Regions from separate parts of the Homo sapiens genome. Here all the other regions are linked to region 1. The links are contacts of gene promoters, found by promoter capture Hi-C in blood cells and fetal thymus (Javierre and others, 2016). All regions are on one chromosome and are shown on one strand. Each heading gives the region's core, a stretch centred on a gene start or on the middle of the fragment in contact. The rest is flanking DNA. Distances are from core to core; before and after follow the strand shown. Region 1 holds the start of ECRG4 (ECRG4 augurin precursor). Region 2 has its middle 58 kb from the start of LINC02946. Region 3 has its middle 100 kb from the start of CD8B2. Region 4 overlaps C2orf49 (chromosome 2 open reading frame 49). Region 5 overlaps FHL2 (four and a half LIM domains 2). Region 6 overlaps LOC105375311 (a long non-coding RNA gene). Region 7 overlaps FHL2 (four and a half LIM domains 2).

Region 1 (3,355 bases), core at 244-2,743:
TCTCTGACACCCTGGGCAGTATCATGATCTAACTCAGACCCACTTTGCACTTTTTTCTTTGGTTGGCCACCATCTGTCTTTACTAGCTCAATGTTAGAAGACTTCTTTCTCCTTCCTGCTGGAGAAATTCAACTGCATTGCATGGAGAGCTAATTATATGGAGAGACAGTAAGTGCTTACCACTGGAGGGTATAAAAATACTGGCCGGTGTGGTGGCTCACACCTGTAATCCTAACACTTTGGGAGGCCGATGCGGGTGAATCATTTGAGTTCAGGAGTTCAAGACCAGCCTGGCCAACATGGTAAAATCCCTTCTCTACTAAAAATACAAAATTAGCTGGGCCTCGTGGCACATGCCTTGTAATCCCAGCTACTCAGGAGGCTGAGGCAGGAGAATCGCTTGAACCCCGGAGTTGGAGGTTGCAGTGACTGAGATCCCATCACTGCACTCCAGCCTGGGCAACAAGAGTGAAACTCCGTCTCAGGGAGGGGAAAATAAGTGAGAACCTTGGTGAAGGAAAGAGGTAATCAGCTCAGTTCAGGGCAGATCTGAGATGGGAAGACAGGAAAGGTAATCTCACATCTCCATCCTTTTGTAGCCCAGGCCTGGAGAGAATAATTAGGTGACCCGCTCAGAGTCCGTTGGGATAAAGTTGTTCTAGTTTTTGTTCACTACGCCTCCTTTCACGTGTCCTCTACAGTTGAACAGGCCAGTTACTGGGATGCAGTTCTGCGTTTCCCTTGGGTCTCACCTTAACATCGCTCGCTGAAGTGTGCCCAGATTACAGAGCGGGCAAAGGGAAGCAGTGGTTTTGCTCACAGCTGCAGGGCACCAGGTTCCTGGTTTCTCAAAGGCTTTTCTATTGGAGAAGTTTGGGTGAGACGATTTCCCGGACTGCAGCTCTGAACCCAGACTGTGGAATCTTTCAAACTATCTCAAAAACAGCCCCGCCTAAGGCATCCTTAAGAGCAGCTCTGAACTAAGGAAATTCCAAAGCCCACTTTACAAACCAGGCAGAAGCAAGGCCCCCAAGCAGGGAGGGAGGGAGATAGGGAAGAAAGGGGTGAGGAGTAAGGGGAACAGTGGCGCGGCTGGGGCGGGCGGAGGAAGTGGGGGAGCCAAGGAGACACCCCAGCGCTGGGATCCGGCAAGTCCTCCCTCTGAGTGGCCAGGGGGCCTCGTCCCTTCTCCCGATGCCTTCTGCCCTTCCTTGGGTCTCCGGAACCCAGCTTGTCCTAACCGCTTTCGCTGCGGGCAGCGCTGGCCACGCGGCCCCCGCCGCCGGCGGTTCTCCGTGGCCAAGCATCCTTGGCCTTGGAGCCCAGGGGCTGCGTTCCCCTTGGGGCCGGGGCGGGAGAGAGGACCTCGGTGGTACTCGCCCGTGCGCTGGGCGCAGCCGCTTGGCCCTCAGCCCTCTGGCGCGGCGCCCACCCGCTGGGTCCCGCCCCGGCAGCGACGCAGGGATAACCCGCGGCCGCGCCTGCCCGCTCGCACCCCTCTCCCGCGCCCGGTTCTCCCTCGCAGCACCTCGAAGTGCGCCCCTCGCCCTCCTGCTCGCGCCCCGCCGCCATGGCTGCCTCCCCCGCGCGGCCTGCTGTCCTGGCCCTGACCGGGCTGGCGCTGCTCCTGCTCCTGTGCTGGGGCCCAGGTGAGCGGGGCGATGCCAGGCTGATTGATAGCGGCACCAGGGGTTGGCCCCATGTGGCGCTTCCATGGTGCCCGGGGAGAGCGATCGGTGATGGGGTGGCGGCGTAGGGACCCATCCTTAGCCTAGGCAGGGCCAAGGGGTGGTAGAGGACCGGGTCTGGGGTTTTGCACTCGCACAAGTGCGAAGTGGTGCCCTTGTGAGGGTGGAGAGAGTACCGGGGTCAAGGGGAGGGTCTCAGATCTCCCGGGCAACCTTGGGCAAGGAGGGCCAGGCGTCCGAAGGGTGGGCAAGTAGTGTTTCGTGGCTTAACGTAAGGGGCAAAAGGGTTGTGGGGGCTTTACGCAGCTGGTAACCCAGAGGAGGCAAATGGCACCATCACCGCCATTCCCTTCCAGGCAGTCGCTTAGCAACCAAGTTGACTTGCGCTTCCCAGCTGGGTCAAGTTGCAATTTGCAAAGCTGGGCACAGGCCTCACACCCCAGAGAGGGGAAAGGCTCTTAAAGGAGTAATGCTTAATCTTTCCTGCTTCGTGGAGCTCCCAGCGAATCGGTTGAAAACTCTGAAATTCTCTGCTCGCTCTCTGTAAAACGTGCATTCACACGCACACCCAGAATGATGGGTGCTCCGATATCTGATCGCTGGGCTCCACAGGCCCCACTTTAGGAACCATAATCTGAAGCCGTGGTTTGTCCTGAGTTACCACCTTCACTGGGTAGGAGGAACATTTATGGTTCACAAGTGGCCTCAAGGACACATGACTGCCTTTGAAGCTTACAACTAGGGGAGGCAGGGATTGTTACCTCAGAGTTACTGGTGTATGAAGTGACTTGCCCAAGAGCCTGAGACTGGCGCTGTCCCACTGCAAAGCAGCTGGGCACTGCCTAATGTAAAAGGGAGGCTCACTCGGTTGCTCAGTTTCTGTATTTTGCTCATTCGAAACAGGTATGGAAACTGAACTCGAGGTGAGAAGAGGCAGGGGACATTCAGTAGGAGCCCTGGGATGGAGCCCCGGGGTTGCTAAAACAGCAGGAGGCGTGGTGAGGTCTGTTCAGGTGGGGAGGATTATTGTTCCACCTTAGAATCACAGGCGAAGCTAATCAGTCATTTCCCGTTGTATGGTTTACCTGCCTCCCACTCTTTGTTCTTGCCACTTTAAGAAGCACATCTGGGCCGGCCTTGGTGGTTCATACCTGTAATCCCAGCACTTTGGGAGGCCGGGGGGGGGGGGGGGGCAGATCACCTGAGGTCGGGGGTTCGAGACCAGCCTGACCAACATGGAGAAACCCCGTCTCTACTAAAAATGCCAGACGTGATGGCACGTTCCTGTAATCCCAGCTACTCGGGAGGCTGAGGCAGGAGAATTGCTTGAATCTGGGAGGAGGAGATTGCGGCGAGCTGAGATCGTGCCATTGCACTCCAGCCTGGGTAACAAGAGTGAAACTCCGTCGCAAAATAAAAAAAGAAATAAATAAAAGAAGAAGAAGAAAAAAGCACATCTGAATAAGTCAAGTGAGCACTGGCTACAAGCCATTTATTTTCAGGACTTGTATTTTATTTAGTTTATACCAATAACTCAGTTAAAATATCATCACCGAGCTGGGATGTGAAAGTTCTTATACAGTGAAAATATTTTTTTTTTTTTTGAGATGGAGTTTTGCTCTTGTTGCCCAGGCTGGAGTGTAATGGCGTGACCTTGGCTCACTGCA
Region 2 (2,950 bases), core at 283-2,782, 510 kb before region 1:
TGGCGCGATCTCGACTCATTGCAAGCTCTGCCTCCCAGTTTCATGCCATTCTCCTGCCTCGGCCTCCCGAGTAGCTGGGACTACAGGCGCCCACCACCACGCCTGGCTAATTTTTTTGTATTTTTAGTAGGGACGGGGTTTCACCGTGTTAGCCAGGATGGTCTTGATCTCCTGACCTCGTGACCCACCTGTCTTGGCCTCGCAAAGTGCTGGGATTACAGGCGTGAGCCACATGCCTGGCTGGGCCCGGCCGTGAAGCATATTTCTGTATGTGAACAGTAAACGATTGGAACTTGAAATTTTACAAATATTTACAAAAGCATCACAAGAAATAAAATACTTAGGTATAAGGAAGAGAGCCCTCACTAGCAACCAAATTTTGCTAGCACCTTGATTTTGGACTTCTCAGAGTTCAGACTACAAGAAACAAATTTCTGCTGTATTAAGCCAAAAGTAAAAAAACTTAGATATAAATCTAACAAATGATGTGCAGGATCAGTATGCTTAACTACAAAACACTGAAGAGAGAAATTAAAGGAGACCTAAATAAATGGAGAAATATATCATGTTCATGGATTGGAAGATACAATACCGTTAAGATGTCAATTCTATCCAATTAGATGTGGAGATTCAGCATAATCAAAGTCCCAGTAAACTTTTGAATCAATAAGACTCAGTAAGCTGATTCTAAAATGTATATGGATAAGCACAGGAACTGTTTGGAAAGGCCAAACAATATAGTTAATTGATTTTTGACAAAGATGTTAAGATAATTCAATGGAGAATTACTAATAGTAATTTGAGCAAAGGATTAAAAAAAGAGAACCTTAATATACACCTCAGAACTTTTTCAATATTAGCTCATGGATTATGACCTAAATATTAAACATAAAACTTAAAAAAGTGCAAAAGAAAATGTAGGAGAAGATCTACATAACCTAGAGTTTATCAAAGAGTTTTTAGATATGACTTCAAAAGATAAATTTAATTTGATCAGTTTGGGTGCAGTGGCTCATGCCTGTAATCCCAGAACTTTGGGAGGCCGAGGTGGGTGCATCACTTGAGGTCAGGAGTTCGAGACCAGCTTGGCCAACATGGCAAAACCCCATCTCTACTAAAAGCTAATACAAAAAATTACCTGGTCATGTTGGCAGGTGCCTATTAATTCCAGCTACTTGGGAGACTGAGGCAGGAGACTCGCTTGAACCCGGGGGCTGGGGTGGTGGTTATAGTGAGCCGAGATCGTACCACTGCACTTCAGCCTGGGTGAAAGAACAAAACTCCTTCTCAAAATAAATAAATAAATAAAAATAAAATAAAAAATAAAAATAATATGATCAAATTTAAAAGCTTTGCTCTGTGAAAGATACACAGAAATACAAAGAGAATAAAAAGATACCCAGAGAATGAAGACAAACCAGACTAGCAGGATATGTTTGCAAGTCACAAATCTAATAAAGATCTTGTATATGGAATACATAAGGAACACTCAAAACTCAGTAAGGAAACCACCCATTTCTTAAAAAATGGGCAAAGGATCTGAACGCACACTTAACGAAAGAAGACACAAGGACAGCAAGTTCCAAGCAAATGAAAAGATAGCAAATCCTAAGCAAATGAAAATGTAGCAAATCCTAAGCATATGAGCAGATACTCAACAATACCAGTCATTAGGGAAATGCAAATTAGAACTACAAACTTTACATACAAAACACAAGCTTGGAAATAAAAGTATTATGAATTTCAAGATGACAGGAGCAGAGCATTAAACCAAGTGGGGGGCCCCTCTGAGCCAAGGGCCCCATGTGACTGCGTAGGCCACCTGCCTGTAAAACCAGCCAACACAATTTGTGCAGAAAAAGAAAAATGGCAAAGTAGAAGCTTACTATTTTCAGCAGGTAAGCCCCAAATTACTGATAACCTTGATATTCATAGTGATAATACCTAAAGCAAAATCAATGTTGGTTAGATGTCAAGGTGGCTGATAACTTGTTAAATTAATTATTTACCAATTTGTTTCATGATATAAAATTTTCTCAAAGCATTTTCTAAAAGGAGACAAAATCAACAACAAAAATGTAAATACATTCCGTTCTATTATTCTCTTCTTGCGTAATTTTACCACACGATCAGTGCCTTAAGTAGCAAGATGATACAGGTAATCATAAAAACAGAATGGGCTCATATCATTGCTTTTTCTCTGGTCTGAATTTTAAAATCTTACTTGGGCATAGATTTCTACCAAATTGTTGAAAATAACATCTTCTTCTAAAGAAAAACATAAACGCACTTGGTCCGCATAGAACAAATGACTTTTTTTTTTCTTTCTTTCTTTTCTTTTTTTTTCAAGACGAAGTCTTGCTCTATCACTCAGGCTGGAGTGCAGTGGCACGATCTCGGCTCACTGCAACCTCCACTTCCCAGGTTCAAGCAATTCTCCTGCCTCAGCCTCCTGAGTAGCTGGGATTACAGGCACACGCCACCACACCCTGCTACTTTTTGTATTTTTAGTAGAGATGGGGTTTCACCATTTTGGCCAGGCAGGTCTGGAACTCCTGACCTCGTGATCAGCCTGCCTCAACCTCCCAAAGTGCTGGGATTACAGGCGTGAGCTGCCACACCCGGCCACAAATGACTTTTCAAAAAGTTGCAGATCTTAGAGAGTCATCTCGGTTCCAAGAAGAATAAGAACTTTTTATAAGGCAAAATCATTTCTGTTAACAGGGGAAAATTTTTATCTAACGACGTTTAGTGGGAAATGGGAAAATTCTCATTTCCCCTGGCCAAATGCTATTGACAGAGCAATAACAAAAGGAGAAAAGCATGTCTGTGAAGATTATGTGAGAATTTCCAATAGCTGGTATCTGAGAATTGCTCTGGTCAATTGCAGAAACTGCTTTAAAAAGAAAGAAAAATACCTTTCAGGGATGAAGCTATCATACCAAAATTT
Region 3 (2,961 bases), core at 87-2,586, 520 kb after region 1:
ACAAAAGATTTCAGTAAAAGGAAAGATAGTATTTCTGCAGGGAAGAGTACTGCAAGTATGTCAATGCTTTTGACAATGATTTTATATTTGTTACTTAGAATGAGAGGTAGGTTGTGAGCAGGTATGTGTTTGGGGAAGGTAAGTTAATAAGCGTGGAGTTAAATGAGTGGAATGGGGTACGGTGTAGATAGTGCGTGGGTTTACACGGGGTGTAGGTGGGTAGTGGGGTCCGGTAGGTAGTTGAGTGAGTCAGGGCCGAGGGTAGCGAGTTGTGTGGGCTAGGGGTGGATACTGAGTAGGGGACGGCAGCGTGTGGCTTAGAATTGTTGCTTGAAAAATACTCTGCTTTGTTGAGAAGACTGTTTTGAATCTAGTTGTGTTATACTATAGTAGCAGTAGAAATTTTAATTGCTTTAAATAGATTTTATGTATGTATTTATGTATGTATGTATTTCATTTATGTATGTATGTAAGAGGGTCTTCTTACTCGGTGGCTTAGGCTCAGTGCAGTGGTGCCATCAAGGCTCACTGCGGACTCAAAATCCTGGGTTAAAGCAATTTTCCCACCTCAGCCTCCTGAGTAGCCAGGACTACAGTATCATCATGCTCAGCTAATTTTGTATTTTTGTAGAGACGGGATATTGTTGCTTGTAGATGTTGCCCAGGCTGGTTTGGAACTCCTGACCTCAAGCAATTTTCGTGCCTCGGCTTCCCACGTAATAACTGCGTGGGTTTAGATAGTGTGTGCTGTTGGTTTTTCTAGGTGACATTTGAGAGTTTAATTATTTTGCCTCATTTTTCTTTGGCCATACAGATCTAGCCAAGCCTAGAATACTCAGTTTGGCAGAGGACAATTGGTCCCTTTTCTTTCCTTTTTCTTTTTTTTGTTAATGGGATTTTAAAAAAATGTATAATTGACACATTATCATTGTACAAGTGTATGGGGTACAGTGTGATGTTTCAATGCACACAATGATCAAATTGGAATAATTACCACATCCATTACTTTAGACGTTTATTCTTTGTGGTGACAACATTGAGTATCTTCTGGTTATCTTGAAATATACACTACATTATTTCCTATGGTCACCCTACTGTGTAACAGAAATCATTCCTCCTAACTGTGACTTTGCCCGGATGACCAACTTCTCTGGTTCCCTGCCTCCCCCCTGCTCTCCCCAGCGCCTGGTCACTATTTTACTCTATACCTCCATGAAATCAACTTTTTAAGGTTCCAGATAGGAGTGAGATCCTGCGGTGTTTGTCCTTCATGCCTGTCTTATTTCACTTGACGAGAGTCCTCTGGGTTCACACACTGCCCCTCTTTGGGGTGAGCTTGCAGTGTTGTGGATCAGCTGCGGGGTATCAGCCTCCGGGCGCTGTGGTCCCGGTCCTCTTGTGCTCCGCTGCCCCCTGCTGCCCATCCAGGGTATGCGCAGCGAGTGGGGAAATCCTATGCCGCCTGTGAACCTTCCCATTATGTTCGTTTCTTGTCTAAAATATGAGACTTAGGTTTTCATTGCTTCTGTTCACTTCAGAAGAATGAACAGAAAGCACTCGCCACCCTTTAACCTAAATCAAAGTATAAGCCAACATTTCTAACAAGAGTACGGATTCTTTCTTACCTTTGGAGTCCACGGACCCTTAAAAGGTATGTGGGTCGTGGCCGGGCGCGGTGGCTCACAGCCGTAATCCCAGCACTTTGGGAGGCCGAGGCGGGTGGATCACGAGGTCAGGAGATTGAGACCATTCTAGCTAACACGGTGAAACCCCGTCTTCACTAAAAATACAAAAAATTAGCCGGGTGTGGTGGCGGCGCTGTGGCGGGTGCCTTGTAGTCCCAGCTACTCGGCAGGCTGAGGCAGGAGAATCGCTTGAACCTGGGAGGGGGAGGTTGCAGTGAGCCAAGATGGCGTCACTGTACTCCAGCCTGGGCAACAGAGTGAGATTCCTTCTCATAAATAAATAAAAATAAAGAAATAAATATGCGGGTGGGCCTCCTGGAGGTGACCAAGCCCTCGTGACAGTTAGCATGAATGCGTATTTATTTAAGGTTGCACCTTTGGCTTTCACCAGATTCTGTATAGGGTTCATATTCCCAGAAGTTTAATATACATTGCTCTGGAGCAGTGACATTGAAACTTTTTGGACTGTGCACCCCCAATATGTATATTTACTCATAACTTGTATACGAGTACTAAGTGATGAGCTGAAGGTGAAATAAGGATGTCTTTCAACATCCTTATTCACGTCTTTCAATGTCTTTTAGTGTCTTTGTGTCTAGTGCTGATGGGTTCATAATAGCATTAGCCGATATCGCAAGTCACACAGGCAGAGGTTTGCCACCAATGGTGGAAATATAACCATACTCCTCCTTGACAGTTACCGTTCAACTTCTCATTGCTTCTATCTTGACATGTGGTTGATGAAGAACTAGTATTAGAAGTAGTCTACTCGGGAGGCTGAGGCAGGAGAATGGCATGAACCTGGGAGGCGGAGCTTGCAGTGAGCTGAGGTCGTGCAACTGCACTCCAGCCTGGGCGGCAGAGCGAGACTCCGTCTCAAAGAAAAAAAAAATAGTAGTATTAGGACCCTTCTCCTAATATTAGTTATTTTTTTGAGGTTCACCTGGGCTGGCATTATTAGTACCATATTGAATCTATAGTGAATACACAAAAATCTTTTTAAAGCCACTTTTCCATCTCGTGAAGTTATTTTGTTTAAAATGAATCAGCAATCCAATCAACAATTGGCTCTGATATAAGCCCTTTCTTTATAGTGGCTGGATAATATTTTTAAAATATTGTTTGAAAGTCTGATTTCTTTTTCTACCTCCCTATTAGTCTTGAATATTACTACCGTTTACAAAACAGCTAGGTCGGTCTGGGATTCATTGCTTCTAGGAAGGAATGTTTTGATATTATTGTGTAAACATCTATATTAAAAAAAACCGTGAGAATT
Region 4 (3,126 bases), core at 52-2,551, 730 kb before region 1:
TATGTAGCGTATTTTGTTGTTTTTCATATGGCTTTCCCCTTAGTACCCTATCTTTGTTGAATTTCAGGTCCTCTTGCCACGTAGAGCTTAATTATGTCAGTAAGTTTTTACCTGTGGTTCTCAAACTTTTTAGGTACTTAAGAATGAGTCGAGGGACTTGCTAAAACACAGATTGTTGGGCTCCGTCCTCAGTTTCTCGTTCAGTAGTTCCGGAATGTGGCCCGAAATCTTGCATTTTTAACGAGCTTGTTGCTGGCCCAGAAAGCATGCTTTGACCACCACTGTCCTAAGGCAATACTTTCCAAAGTAATGGGCTTATGAATTCTCTGGGAACGTTGTCCAAGAGAATCCTGGTAGTTTCCCCTACTTCTGAGCGAGTACGGGCTAAAAATAGATGAGTCTAATATACGAAAGAGAAGTAAAATGTGCTTTTATTAGTTTTTGTTAGAGGATATAGGCTTGTCGGTGGTACTAAACACAAATGTTTTCAAGCCTTTCTGAGTTGAAATTGAAGAGCCTGTGATCTCATTTCCATTCTCATTTCTCCTTCTTAAATCCAAACTCTGTCTTCATGACTACTCCTGTGCTTATGCTATGTTTTTCATGATGTCAAGAACAAATTGGAAAATGAGGAAGAATTTGGTGATTTAGATAGAGATGGTTGGACAATGACTGGAAGCTTACTTGAAAGGACCAGTGAAAATGGGGTGCAGGCTTTTCTAATGATGTACTGCTACTGTCGTCAGTACGGGAATAACAGTTTCTATTTGTGGTATTATTTGAAATCTTGGTAGTTAACTTCAATTTAGGAAGCACCAGATTAGAGAAGCACGAGAAATATAAGACAGACTGAGACCTTCATCCCACTAATCTGATCATGATAGTAACACTCAAGGTAGCTTATTGACAGAATGTGGTGATTGTTAATCATTGTTAGCTTTCTTTTGTCAACAGGCAGTCTCCCATTTTCAATCCCCTTTGTATATTAAGATAATTTTACTGGAAATGATCTTTCATGCTTGGTGTGTTGGCTGAGCAGTTGTGGACAGCAATCCCTGTCACACTGAGAAAATATGACCATTGTTTTTAAGATGAGGCTGAACCTAGTATCTACAGAATTTAACCTTTAACACTGTCTCTAAGTGCGCGTGTTATTGTGAAAATGGCTTTTTATAATTTGTTATTTAAGCAGTAATGTTTTACCATGTTAGGTAAGGTGGTTACTTGTTAAAATTAAAAACATTGTTTTGAAATTACTTTTGTTTCCTTTCCCGCAGAAGAACATAGCTGTTGAAACTGATGTAAGAGTAAACAAAGACAGTCTTACTGACCTTTATGTCCAACATGCAATACCATTGCCTCAGAGGGATTTGCCGAAGAATAGATGGGGGAAAATGATGGAAAAGAAAAGAGAACAACATGAGATTAAAAATGAGACTAAAAGGTACTTTTTGGTGGTTCTAGCTTTCAATTTATCTTATATAACTAAAGTTATATATAAGTTATTGATTTTTCCTGAGATAAACTTAAGTAAAAAATTTATTTACTCAATGACTATCTATTGAGCACCAGGCACTGTGCGTATAGCAGTGAATAAAACTGACAAAATTCCCTGCTCATATTTTTGATGGGAGAAACATAACAACAGTTAAAATATGGTATTGTTATATAGTAATAAAGGCCAGGGAGAAAGATTACAATTTTTGGTAAATTATCCAGGAAGATCTTAGTGAAAAATGACATTTTAGTAGAGAGACCTGTAGGAAGAAGAAAACAAGCTAGGATTCCAGGCAGAATACAAGAGGCTGGATCTGGAATGTGCCCATCATATACCAGGAACAACAAAGCAGCTATCAGGGCTGGATGGAGAAGTAGGAAGAACGAGTTGTACTGGGGGCAAACGGGAGAGATTGTCAGATCATGTAAAGCTTTGTAAGTCATTGTAAGGACTTTGGCTGTACTCAGATGAGAAGCCACTAGAAGGTTTTAAGCAGAGTGGTGACATCATTAGATGTACATTTTGACAAGATGACTCTGGCTGCTGTCCTAAGAAGTGATTTAAGGTGTGTGGGGAGGGGAAGCGGTGTGTATAAGACTGGAAGCAGGGAAACAAATTAGAAGCCTGTACTGTAATCCAGGCAATAGATGGCAGCAGCTTTGACTACAATAGTAAATTTGGTGGGTTGGAGCATGCATGTATTTTGAAGATAGAGCCAATAGGATTTCCTGAATTTTGAGGAAAAAGTCAAGTCAGGTAAAACTCTAAGGTCTTTGAATAATACACAAATGAAGGGCCTGTTAACTAGCTTAAGTTATGCTATTTAAAATTATTTAATTTCAAAAACAGTTTTATAAAACCACAAGCAAGTGATTTTTTCTTTTTTAAAGAAAATTACATTTGATTAATCAGTGTTGTTGATTGGTTAATAAGTACAAAGTGTCCTAAGATCCTTAAGTGAACTCTTCTGTGTCTATTATATCTCAAGTGGATACTATTGATCAATTAATTTTTTTTTAGGGCCTTCTATTTGTAAGGCACCGTCATAGGCAATCCACTAGAAGCAGTGAGAGAAGACAGAGTAGGAGGGTAGGGGTAAAGGGGAGTATGTTCCTCTGAGTTTTAATCTCTGTTTTACAAAGAAAAATTTAATGATTGAGATTATTCTCCAATTATGAAGAATAGTCGAAGAATACATGTCTGCTCATTGTCTTTTGGAAAATACACACACAGTCTGACCTTTGATCAAGAATGCATTTTAGATTGACCATTTTAGCTTGATGGTTACTTTACTTACTAGTACAGACTATGTAGTGGTGTTAACTTTCATAAATATGGGTTACACTGCATATGGCTTTTAATTTACTTTTGCTGTTATTCAGCCAGTATTTTCCTCTTGATCAGCACATTCAGGCATATTGTTCTAGTAAGCAAAACTTTATGTGCCAGTCATACTTTCCTTTGAAGCAATCTTTGTACAACTGTCTTGATTAGTCCCCCAAAATCATTTTGGAAAGGATCTTTGACTCTATTTTTTAAATACACAATTGAATCAGAGCATTAAAACTGGAAGGATCCAAGAGATCATCTTGTATTGTTGAACTACTTATTATTTTATCTGTGGAGGA
Region 5 (3,268 bases), core at 531-3,030, 680 kb before region 1:
GGCCTAGAAGCGAGATTGTCATTGATTAGACCCGGGTGCCTGAGCCTGTGCTTCCTATCACACTCTGAATCTTTACCTGTGAAGACCTAGTGCCAAGTGACCCTTTTCTTTTCTTCTATCTATCTGTTCTGTCTGTCTATCTATCATCTATCTGTTTAGAGACAGGGGTCTTGCTATATTGCCCAGGCTGGTCTCAAACTCTTGGCCTTAAGTGATCCTCCTGCCTCAGCCTCCCAAAGTGCTGGAATTACAGGCATGAGCCACCACGCCCGGCTCAAGTGACTCTTTCCAAACAGAAAAGCTCCAAACCGATTTTTAGTTTCAGTTATTAGCACCATGCCGGTAGCTTAATTTTGCTATTTCATTAGTACTCCATTGTGAACAGCAAACATGAGTGTAACAGAGATAGCACTTCGATGCTGAGAGGAACAGGGTAAGAAATATGGACACCTTGACAGACTTGCTCAAGAACTTTAAGATGGAAATATCCGGTTTTAAATTCCTCTAGAGAGAAATTGAAAACAAAAAGAAAGAAAAAAAAAGTCTTTTATACTTCCCAGAAAAAAATACCAAGGCTAATCTTGTGCTCACAGAAATGTCATACATTGCAGTAAAATGTTGATAAACATGTACGATTAGGCCCACACACTTCCTTTCTGGTTTTGTATTTTTCCATTGCAGAAACATTCCTAACATGGGCTGTGCCTGTTGCTTGGCTCCGAATGTGTCCTTTTTGAGACTTTAGCTGAGCTTTAGTGGCAAGTGGCCTGGAGGGAGCCCTGGACCCCTCAGTTAATGGAAGGTGGCTCTGGGTGGCAGGGTCACCCAGACTGAAACGTCTGGCTCTCATCCTCCCTCCTTCGCACCCCATTCCACCAGGGCTGGCACCAACCATTCTTCAGATCCATACGATTTCACTTCAGACATGGATTCTCATGTCATTCATGCTCAGCGTTATGAAAAGATATTTTCTGCTTGAGATCATCAGGTTTCCAACTGTACATTCTTTCAAATCCTTACAAATAAAGATGCAGAAAAATGGACAACAGCAGAAATGACAGCACTGTGTTGGCATGTCACAGGTGCTCCCTAGACGTTAACTCACTCAATTACCCCGACAGTCCCGTGAGCTAGGAACCCCAGTGTATAGACATGGAAACGGAGGCTTATAGGTGGCAGGACTTGTCCCCTTCGCGCAGCTTGTCAAAGGTGGAGCCAGGGAGATTTGGTTCCGGGGTCCAGCCTCGGTGCATGCGAGGTCACTGCTGAGCGCTGTGCACCTCTGCTGCTATGTCTTGTGGCTGAACTTTTGGTTTTATGCACTGACAGGCCAAGTTCGTGCACTGACAGGCCCTTCTCATGAAATCCATCCAGACAGCTTTGCTTCTGATCCTAGGACCCTGCTTGATTAAATTCCCTTCACAGACAGATTTTTGTCTTTTAGGAGGAAATCCAAATAAATACGCGTTTTCAGTGCTCGTTACAAACTCTGTGGACAAATTCTACACGGAAGAAGATCCAAGAAGGTAATTTGCTCATTGAGAACTTAAAAACCACCCCAACAAATAAAAAAGCACCAGGTTGGCAGGCTGGACCCTGAGAATGTGACTGGAGTAGGTGCTCTTCCCAGAAAAGGGTCCAGAAAGACCAGCGAGGGAGGCCTGTGTTACACCGAGGACAGAAGGGTGGGTTTTTCAAACCTGACCTTACACCTTTCACTAGGCTTGGTCAGAAACCTTCCAAAATATACTAGGGGCATCTAGATTTAACCTGTATGTGTGAAAACCTTCGTCTCCTATTTCAGAGCCCTGCCAGGTTGCTTTCTGCCAAAATATCACTGAACATTTCTGTCCATTACCAAACATTAACTGAGACTTTTACAGCCAATTTGATCATCACTTCAATGTTTCCTATTAGCTACAAAAGCTGGAAAGAGAGTTTGTGAAACAACTTGAGCCTCAATTCTGCAATGTAATCATCACCATCTAAAGGGGCCCATGAGAAGAGTAGGGGCCTCTGACTGAAGGTCACTTGATTGAGGCCAGGTGGTCACCATCTCTTACTCATAAGGACTGACCACATCTGGCCCGAGAGTCACATAGACAGGGTCCTGCCCGAGGCTGCAGGTAGCAGGTGGCATCACATGCTAGGTGAGGACCCTCCGGGTCTGGGCTCAAATTGTACCTCGGATACTTCCTAATCCCTTTAACCCTTGGCAAGATCCTCATCCTCTCTAGGCCTCAGCGGCTACTCCATAAAATGGAATGAAAAAAGTTCCTACCTATAGGGTGTTAGGAGAAATTTAGATCATGCAGTTTAGGCATTTACAAGTGCCTGGAACAAGTCATCAGGCAATACACAGTGGTTTCAAAGACTACCACTAGAAACTAAACCCTGAATGCTAGTTTCTGATCTGCAGATCTTTTGTTCTTGTTTATTATTTTTTTTTTCTCTTTGTAGCACCCTCCAAGCACATGGGTGGGTATGGTGGCCAGTCCAATTTCATGGCATTGCTTGCAGACCCATGGAACATTCAAAGTCTAGGTTACGTGTGTCGCCCAGGGCTTAAAATCACCAATTTGTTAAATGCACAGTATTAGCAGCTGTCTCTGGAGTTATTGGCCAGCCTATTTTTTATTTTTATTTTTTTAAGATGGAGTCTTGCTCTGTCACCCAGGCTGGAGTACAGTGGCGCAATCTTGGCTCACTGCAACCTCTACCTTCCAGGTTCAAATGATTCTCCTGCCTCAGCCTCCCAAGTAGCTGGGATTACAGGTGCACGCCACCACACCCAGCTTATTTTTGTATTTTTAGTAGAGACGGGGTTTCGCCATGTTGGCCAGGCTGGTCTCCAGCTCCTGGCCTCAAGTGTTCCACCTGCCTCGGCCTCCCAAAGTGCTGGAATTACAGGCGTGGGCCACTGTGCCCAGCCCTATTTTTTCTTTAGTTGGTTGAATTTTTGAAGCCCAGAACGTAGGCAGATCCCCCAAAAACTCTGTAATCAGTCTACGAAAATATTTTGTTAATGCTAACAGGTATCCAAGAAAAGGTTCAGGAAGCATGTAATGTCAGAGGATCATAAAATTGTATTAGCATTGTCTATTCTCCACTATTACACTGGCCATACAAATCAATAATCTTTACCCTTTGAGATCACAGCATTTTCCCAGAGTAACTTAATAGAAATAAAGATTACAATTCAGTGGCTACATAGAGAGGATGTTCAAACTATATAACAGGCTCTGAAGTCTTGCCTGTCTCATTTAAG
Region 6 (3,080 bases), core at 260-2,759, 550 kb before region 1:
GCTGCAAGCTCCGCCTCCCATGTTCACGCCATTCTCCTGCCTCAGCCTCCCTAGTGAGTAGCTGGGACTACAGGCACCCGCCACCACAGCCAGCTAATTTTTTTGTGTGTTTTTAGTAGAGATGGGGTTTCAGCTGGGCAATTTCAAATAGAGGCCTTGTCTGTTTTGAGGGCTAAGATCCAACTTTGCATTATTAACATATATTTATGTGTGTGTGTATATGTGTACATATATGTACGTGTATATATGTGTATTATGTATGTATGTATATTTTTCTCTGATAACTTAATGCTGCCTTTGAGGGCACAGGCCCCAGCTCCCTGGTATTTGTGCTACAGAACTCTGGCAGGCACCCAGGGACTTGGCTGGCCAGAGGACCAGGAGCATGTGGGACCAGTGCCTGGGGCTCCCAGCCAGGTTTTCAGCCCTTGCCATGCTGCCTTCTATACTGACCCCTTGCCCTTTGCAGAATGCCTGTGGGTTTGAGAACGTCCCAGGGGACTTGCTGTTAGCCGCTTCCAGCTGGTGACATCTAAAGGCTTGGAGGCCATGGCTCCATAGGCAGCATGCCCAGAACACTTACCAACAAGAGTGCACCCAGAGGCTGCAGTTTCGGCTCTAGATGGGGTCCTCTTGTCCTGCCATGCCCATGTGTCCCAAGCAGGCATGTGAGGGAAAAGAGAGTCAGAATCCCTTCTGCACTGATGGGCTCTCAAGAGGTATTATATGTACTTGCATAGAGAGGGCCAGTGGGGATTTAGAATCAGCCAAACAGAACTGGGTTTGAACCCCAGCCCCCTGATGACACATGTGTGACCTGGTGAGGTGGCCTGGCCTCTCTGGACCATAGTCCTCACAGGAAACATGTTTGCACCTGCATTGGACCTGCTTCCCGGGGTGCTGGCCGGCCAGGGGCTCAGCCTAGGTGTTCAGTGATGTCTGTCTCGGTATCATCACTGCCTGACTGCCATGGTCTGCAGGCGGGGTGGGGCAGGGCTAGGAAGGGTCCATGGCTGGGACCAGCTCCAATGTTGATGAGCGTTTCCTTTATAAGAGGTGCTGAGCAAGCACTGTCCTCATCCAATCCTCCCAACAAACTTGGGAGTTTGGTTTGTTAATCCCCAGGTCACAACCAAGGAAGTCACCTCTCACGAAGGCCACTCAGCTGATGGACAGAGTCAGGCCTACATCTGGCCTCCCTGATCTGCTTCCCCAGGAGTCCAAAGACCCAGATGTCCTCCACATTAGCTCATTTCCCACCGCACTGCACTTTGTCATCCACACCAAAGTCAGGTGGAGTTAATTCCCTGCTAAACTCATCCTTGGCTCTGCAAGATGAATGCCGAACCCTTAGCCTAGGCCAGGAGGGGAACCCTTCACACACCGGGGGCCGCAGCTCCAGCTCAGCCCCCAACACCCATCAATGCACACAGGCTATTTGACCCCCTTGACAGCTCCCAGGCAGCCCACACTTGTGTCTGTGCACGTGTGCTGCTGCATCTTCCAGGGACCATGCTTCTCCTCTAACGCCTTGTGTAAGTGTGACCTCTCTGGGGAAGGTCTGCCTCATCCCCTGGGGAGACACACTTGCTCCCTCATCTGGGCCCTCTTGGCATGGTGTTCATTCTCCACTGCATAGCGCTATCATTGATCAGTTTGCATGTATGCTAGGAGCTCCTAACCAGTATTTATTGGACCTCTGCAAGCCTGGGAATCTGTAAGTGCTGAACTCCATGCAGGCAGGGCTGTCTCAGCCACCTGCTGCCTGGGTGGCTCTGGGCAGGCCCTTCAACTCTGTGCTCAGGATCCTCATTTGCACAATCAGCTAAAAGTAGCATTTTGTTCCTAAGGTTTTTATAAAAATTAAATTAGTTAATATAGATGAGGTGCTTAGAATAATGTTTGGCTCACAGTAAGTAAAAGCTAATAAAGATTGACTACTATTATTATACTCAGTAAATATTAAATTAATACATGAAAATAGCACAAATGGAAGCCCAATTTAGCCTTTTGCCCTTCACAGACCGCAGGTTCCCTTTCTTCCGTATCTATAAAAAACTTTCTGGACAAAGTAGTTACTCAACATTTATTAAATACAAAGAATAAATTAGTTTAAATATCACAGAAAAGAAGGATGCTAAACCCCACACCGCCACTTACTGGAAGATATCATGCACTCAAACCATAGGCTATTACTAAACTTCAGTTTGTCTTTAAATAAAAATTCTTGGGGGGACAGAGTCTTGCTCTACTAGAGCTAGAGTACAGTGGCATGATCATAGCTCACTGTAGCCTCAAATTTCTGGGCTGAAGTGACCCTCTGCCTTGACCTCTGAGGAGCTGGCATGCACCATCACACCTGGCTGACTTAAAAATAAATTTTTTTTAAGAGATGGGGTCTTGCTATGTTGCCCAGGCTGACCTCAAGCAATCCTCCAACCTCAGCCTCCCAAAGCACTGGGATTACAGGTATGAGCACCATACCCAGCTTAAAATTTTTTATTTCTAACTGACAATCAAGAACTTGCACTGGAACAACTAGCAGGGAGCGCTGCCCCTTCAAGATATTTCTTACTTGTTTTAGCCAAATTGGTTTCAGTTTGGGTGAGATTAGATTTTCAGTTGTTTTTTAGTAATGTAGACACACATTACTATATGCTTATTTATATCCTCTGACTTTGAGTGTTCTCAAGGGTTCTAGTCACAGAGTCATCTAGTCTTTAGGAAAAAAAGAGACCAGAAGGGCATTAACATATATTTAGTTCTGACCATGTGCCAGGCATGGACCTCTGGGTTCAAATGGCCTCATCTAGGATATGGGATAAGTAAGAACAGAACGGTTAAGTATGTGTGATGAAATTTAAGTATTTCTGGAATCTATAATGCAACAAACCGATATCCCCTATTCTCTTACCCTATCCATTTGTGCACTCATTCTTGCCACAGCTGTGTCAGGTATCTATGCCATAATACAGCTGGGCACCTCAGGGGGACCAGGAGAGCAACATTAACCTCTAAGTTCCAAGCAGTTTATATTTGAGATTAATGCTAAGGCAAGTTCACAAATAGTATAATGGGCA
Region 7 (3,368 bases), core at 126-2,625, 700 kb before region 1:
GGCACAGGATGTCGTCCCTCTCTGTGAGGAAGCCACGCCCCACCAGTGAGAGGGAGCACTTCTTACAGTTAAAGCAGTCGTTATGCCACTGCCGTTCCTCAAAGGAGATGTATTTTGTGCCACCAAGTCCTGTTAACAGAGAGAAAATAATACCGGATGAAGAAAGTTAGAATCAGGCAACTGGGACTGAAGAAGGAATTCTGGTTTGATCCATTTCAAAGTTTGGATTGTGTAATATGGATAATGTGAATTTCTAGTGACTGGGTGTTGGGAATCCATATGTAAATCAGATTCTATGCACAGCCTGGAGGATCTCGTGAATATCAGAAGAGATATATAAACTGGTTCCAAAACGATGGGATAAGTGCGATCAAAGAATGCTGACTGTGTATTTGTTATGTGTTTTCCCACAAAATGAAACTCCATGAGAAGAGGGAGCAGATTTCTCTTATGTCTTCACTAGGTGCCTCACGTTGCCTGGTGCTCAAATTTTTATGACTTAATGATTGAAGCAGTGAAGGGAGTGTAGAAGAGGAAAAGGTTAATCCTCCCTGGGATGGCCAGGAAAGGCCTCACAGATAAAGTGCGATGTGGGTGGGAATGAGGGGAGAGGGATATTGTCGCAGTGGGAAGATCCTGAGAAAGCTGCAGACAGATAGAATGGAATCAAATATTTAAGGTACATTGGTCCGTGATTATAATACAGTTGGTTTTTACCTAGTGTTTTTTCTCAGTGCCACAATAACCACAATTCACATTCATATCTAATGTTTTACATTTAAAAGTGCTTTTATATAGATTGTATCACTTTATAAAGCTTAATGTTATAAACATTTACCTCAACAGAAGTTACTGCTGAAAACAGCATTAAAGATGAATATGTTCTGGCAAAAGATTACATTTTCCCCCTAAAAGATTCCAAGGGAAATCTGGTATATAAATGACCAGAAACAGATATTTTAACATAGGTAAAGTGTAAATACTGTGCTTTTCTTCATATTTTAATTTCACATGGAAATGTAATGAGCTCTGCATTACACATGAGAGTACTGTTTTAGCGACCTGGGAAGGTGAGTTAGCTGAGTTAGGTGAACTTGGTTCTAGGCCTAAGGGAAAGGAAAGTCAAGGACAAGTACACAGGGGGTGTATAGATGTGTTTCTGTAGTTACACTGAAAAGCCACACAGGAAAGCCAGGCCACCGGGTACTCCAAGTGTCTGCCACCTTCCTCTGATAGGAACGAACCAGTCAACTGAATGCAACGGGATTGCAAATCCCACATCATAAAACTTCTCCTGTGTTATTACAGAACACACACTTTTCTCTCCCCACCCAGTCACTCATTTGTGTAGCGATATGTGGTGACCATTTAAAGGACTTTAGTGTGAACTCCTCTGTTCTCCACACTGAATTTCTCCAGCCTGCTTAATAGTCTAGTCCAGAAGCCTGGTCTGCCAGCCAGCCAGATTTTGGGCTCTCACTTAGCTGAATTCTTTGGGGGAATACAATATGAAAAACTCCTTAGAATGTACCCTCTGCCCTCATATAGCTATGGCCTTGTGGTAGAAGTTTCCCATTAAGATGTTTTGGAGTACAACCGTCCCACTAAGATGCTAGGGGACACTTCTAAGAACACAGCACAGCTGCTAAGCCTGAAAAGGCCAGTTTTTATTGTGCTTTTGTGATGTCACAGGCTCACAGACTGCAGTTTTAGCGATAATCCAACCCAAAGCAGAAACTAAACTGGAGCACTGGCCATATGGTTGTGATCAGGTGGGCTGCAGAGGAAGGAATCATTACTTGCTGAAGCATAGCCAGTGCACCAAGGAGAGGAAAGCAGATAGGCAGAAAAGTCTGCTGTGTTCAGAGCCTTAGGGAGGTCTGGGGAGTTGAGGGATATAGACAGGGTCACAGGCTAAAATGCTAGGCCTTGTTCAAGCTTCCAATCGCCCCTGGAAATGGGAACCCCGGGACACTCACCGCTGATGGGGTTGGTGCACCCAGCACACTTCTTGGCATACAAGTCACAGAAGCAGTTCAGGCAGTAGGCAAAGTCATCGCGAGCTGTGAAGCGCTGCCCAGACAGCTGCTTCCTGCAGGCGGTGCACACGAAGCACTCCTTGTGCCAGGGCTGCTCCCGGTAAGTGACCCCTCCCGTGGTGATGGGCTGCAGGGACGAGGGGGAGAGTTAGTGTGGCCTCTGTGCTTGGCAGACATCTTCAGTCTCAGCTACTGCCACTGGACGATGCAAGATCCTCATCCAGAAACGTCCAGTTTGTTAAGTCACCAAGAAGCTGCTTTACAAACTTCACAGTCACTCGTCACCCTCACCACACGCTTTCATTCCAGTGTCATAGGCCCTGGCTTTCCCGTTAGTGAAACTGGAGCTTGGGGTTGCCCTCAGCCCTTCCCAGGGATGCTGGGGATCTAAGGCATAGGGTGCCTCAGTGGTGTTGCCACCTTTCTGAGCAGGGAAGCAGCACAGTGGAGGGGTCGGGATTCAATACAGCATCAAGGAGACCTGGGTTTGAATCCTAACCCTACTCCTTACCAGCCCTGTGGCTGGGAGCAGGTCATGATAAAGATCTCTGCACTTCAGTTTTCTCATCCAGGAAGTGAGGGTGATGAGGTTAATTGGGCAAGTTGATGAGGAGTCCTTACTTAGAAGCCTGGCAGGGCTGGTGGCTCACACCTGTAATCTCAGGACTTTGGGAGGCCGAGGCAGGTGGATCACTTGAGGTCAGGAGTTCGAGACCAGCCTGGCCAACATGGCGAAACCCCATCTCTACTAAAAATACAAAAAATTAGCTGAGTGTGGTGGTGCACCTGTATTCCCAGCTACTCAGGAGGCTAAGGCAGGAGAATCGCTTGAACCCTGGAAACAGAGGTTGCAGTGAGCCAAGATCATGCCACTGCACACCAGCCTGGACAACAGAGTGAGACTGTCTCAAAAACAAAACAAAACAAAACAAAACAAAAACCCTGGCAAGTGGTAACCTCTCCAATGCCACTCACGAGCCTGTCTCTCCAGCCACTTACGGTGAAAGAAGGAAGAGGCTTAAAGGACAGCCGGGACTAGCACCTGCTGATGCCACAAGAAGAGATGGGCATCTTGGAAGTTTTGGGAAAAATAAGCTGGATGCCTTCATTCTCACCTGTCTTGTGGTCTTAGAACATCTGTGAGGTGAAGCTGCAAAGCCACATGAGGTGGAACTGGCCATCAGTACCTCAATTTTACCTGATATTTTTCTCCAAATGTTGCATCTCACATTCTATTTAAAAATGAGTGCTTGGTGGAGCTGAGTAAGCTATCAGAGAGGAGTGTAGGTGGCCTCAGCTTGGCAAACGAAGGCTGTGGAAGATGGAGTG

Evidence for each region. Contacts are between HindIII fragments. The CHiCAGO score rates a contact against its expected background, and 5 or more counts as called.
Region 2: a fragment that was not itself captured here is called in contact with the fragment with the promoter of ECRG4 in region 1 in 11 of 17 cell types (non-activated CD4 T cells, activated CD4 T cells, total B cells and 8 more); the score reaches 12.5 in non-activated CD4 T cells.
Region 3: a contact is called between a fragment that was not itself captured here and the fragment with the promoter of ECRG4 in region 1, in 1 of 17 cell types (monocytes). The highest score is 6.4, in monocytes.
Region 4: a contact is called between a fragment that was not itself captured here and the fragment with the promoter of ECRG4 in region 1, in 5 of 17 cell types (naive CD8 T cells, activated CD4 T cells, total CD4 T cells and 2 more). The highest score is 8.7, in naive CD8 T cells.
Region 5: a contact is called between a fragment that was not itself captured here and the fragment with the promoter of ECRG4 in region 1, in 4 of 17 cell types (naive CD4 T cells, total B cells, naive B cells and 1 more). The highest score is 7.0, in naive CD4 T cells.
Region 6: a contact is called between a fragment that was not itself captured here and the fragment with the promoter of ECRG4 in region 1, in 4 of 17 cell types (neutrophils, naive CD4 T cells, total B cells and 1 more). The highest score is 8.3, in neutrophils.
Region 7: a contact is called between a fragment that was not itself captured here and the fragment with the promoter of ECRG4 in region 1, in 11 of 17 cell types (total CD4 T cells, naive CD4 T cells, total B cells and 8 more). The highest score is 12.1, in total CD4 T cells.

The regions. Positions count from the first base shown.
Region 1 is chr2:106,064,195-106,067,549 of GRCh38, forward strand. ECRG4 (ECRG4 augurin precursor) reads left to right here and starts at 1,494. Exons shown (of 4, transcript NM_032411.3): 1 at 1,494-1,649. The coding sequence starts at 1,571. The HindIII fragment of the contact is 9,592 bases long and covers 1-2,417 here.
Region 2 is chr2:105,550,591-105,553,540 of GRCh38, forward strand. No RefSeq gene overlaps it. Among named protein-coding and RNA genes, the nearest start is that of LINC02946, 58 kb to the right of the region's middle. The HindIII fragment of the contact is 368 bases long and covers 1,349-1,716 here.
Region 3 is chr2:106,586,163-106,589,123 of GRCh38, forward strand. No RefSeq gene overlaps it. Among named protein-coding and RNA genes, the nearest start is that of CD8B2, 100 kb to the left of the region's middle. The HindIII fragment of the contact is 4,259 bases long and covers 1-2,961 here.
Region 4 is chr2:105,338,306-105,341,431 of GRCh38, forward strand. It overlaps C2orf49 (chromosome 2 open reading frame 49), which reads left to right. Exons shown (of 4, transcript NM_024093.3): 2 at 1,278-1,444. Among named protein-coding and RNA genes, the nearest start is that of C2orf49, 2.3 kb to the left of the region's middle. The HindIII fragment of the contact is 1,249 bases long and covers 678-1,926 here.
Region 5 is chr2:105,380,254-105,383,521 of GRCh38, forward strand. The region is part of intron 3 of FHL2 (four and a half LIM domains 2); the gene reads right to left. It also overlaps a transcript of C2orf49 not described here. Among named protein-coding and RNA genes, the nearest start is that of FHL2, 17 kb to the right of the region's middle. The HindIII fragment of the contact is 4,389 bases long and covers 1-3,268 here.
Region 6 is chr2:105,517,566-105,520,645 of GRCh38, forward strand. The region is part of intron 1 of LOC105375311 (a long non-coding RNA gene); the gene reads left to right. Among named protein-coding and RNA genes, the nearest start is that of LINC02946, 91 kb to the right of the region's middle. The HindIII fragment of the contact is 4,918 bases long and covers 1-3,080 here.
Region 7 is chr2:105,361,306-105,364,673 of GRCh38, forward strand. It overlaps FHL2 (four and a half LIM domains 2), which reads right to left. Exons shown (of 7, transcript NM_001318895.3): 6 at 1,980-2,166; 7 at 1-129. It also overlaps a transcript of C2orf49 not described here. Among named protein-coding and RNA genes, the nearest start is that of C2orf49, 25 kb to the left of the region's middle. The HindIII fragment of the contact is 1,121 bases long and covers 816-1,936 here.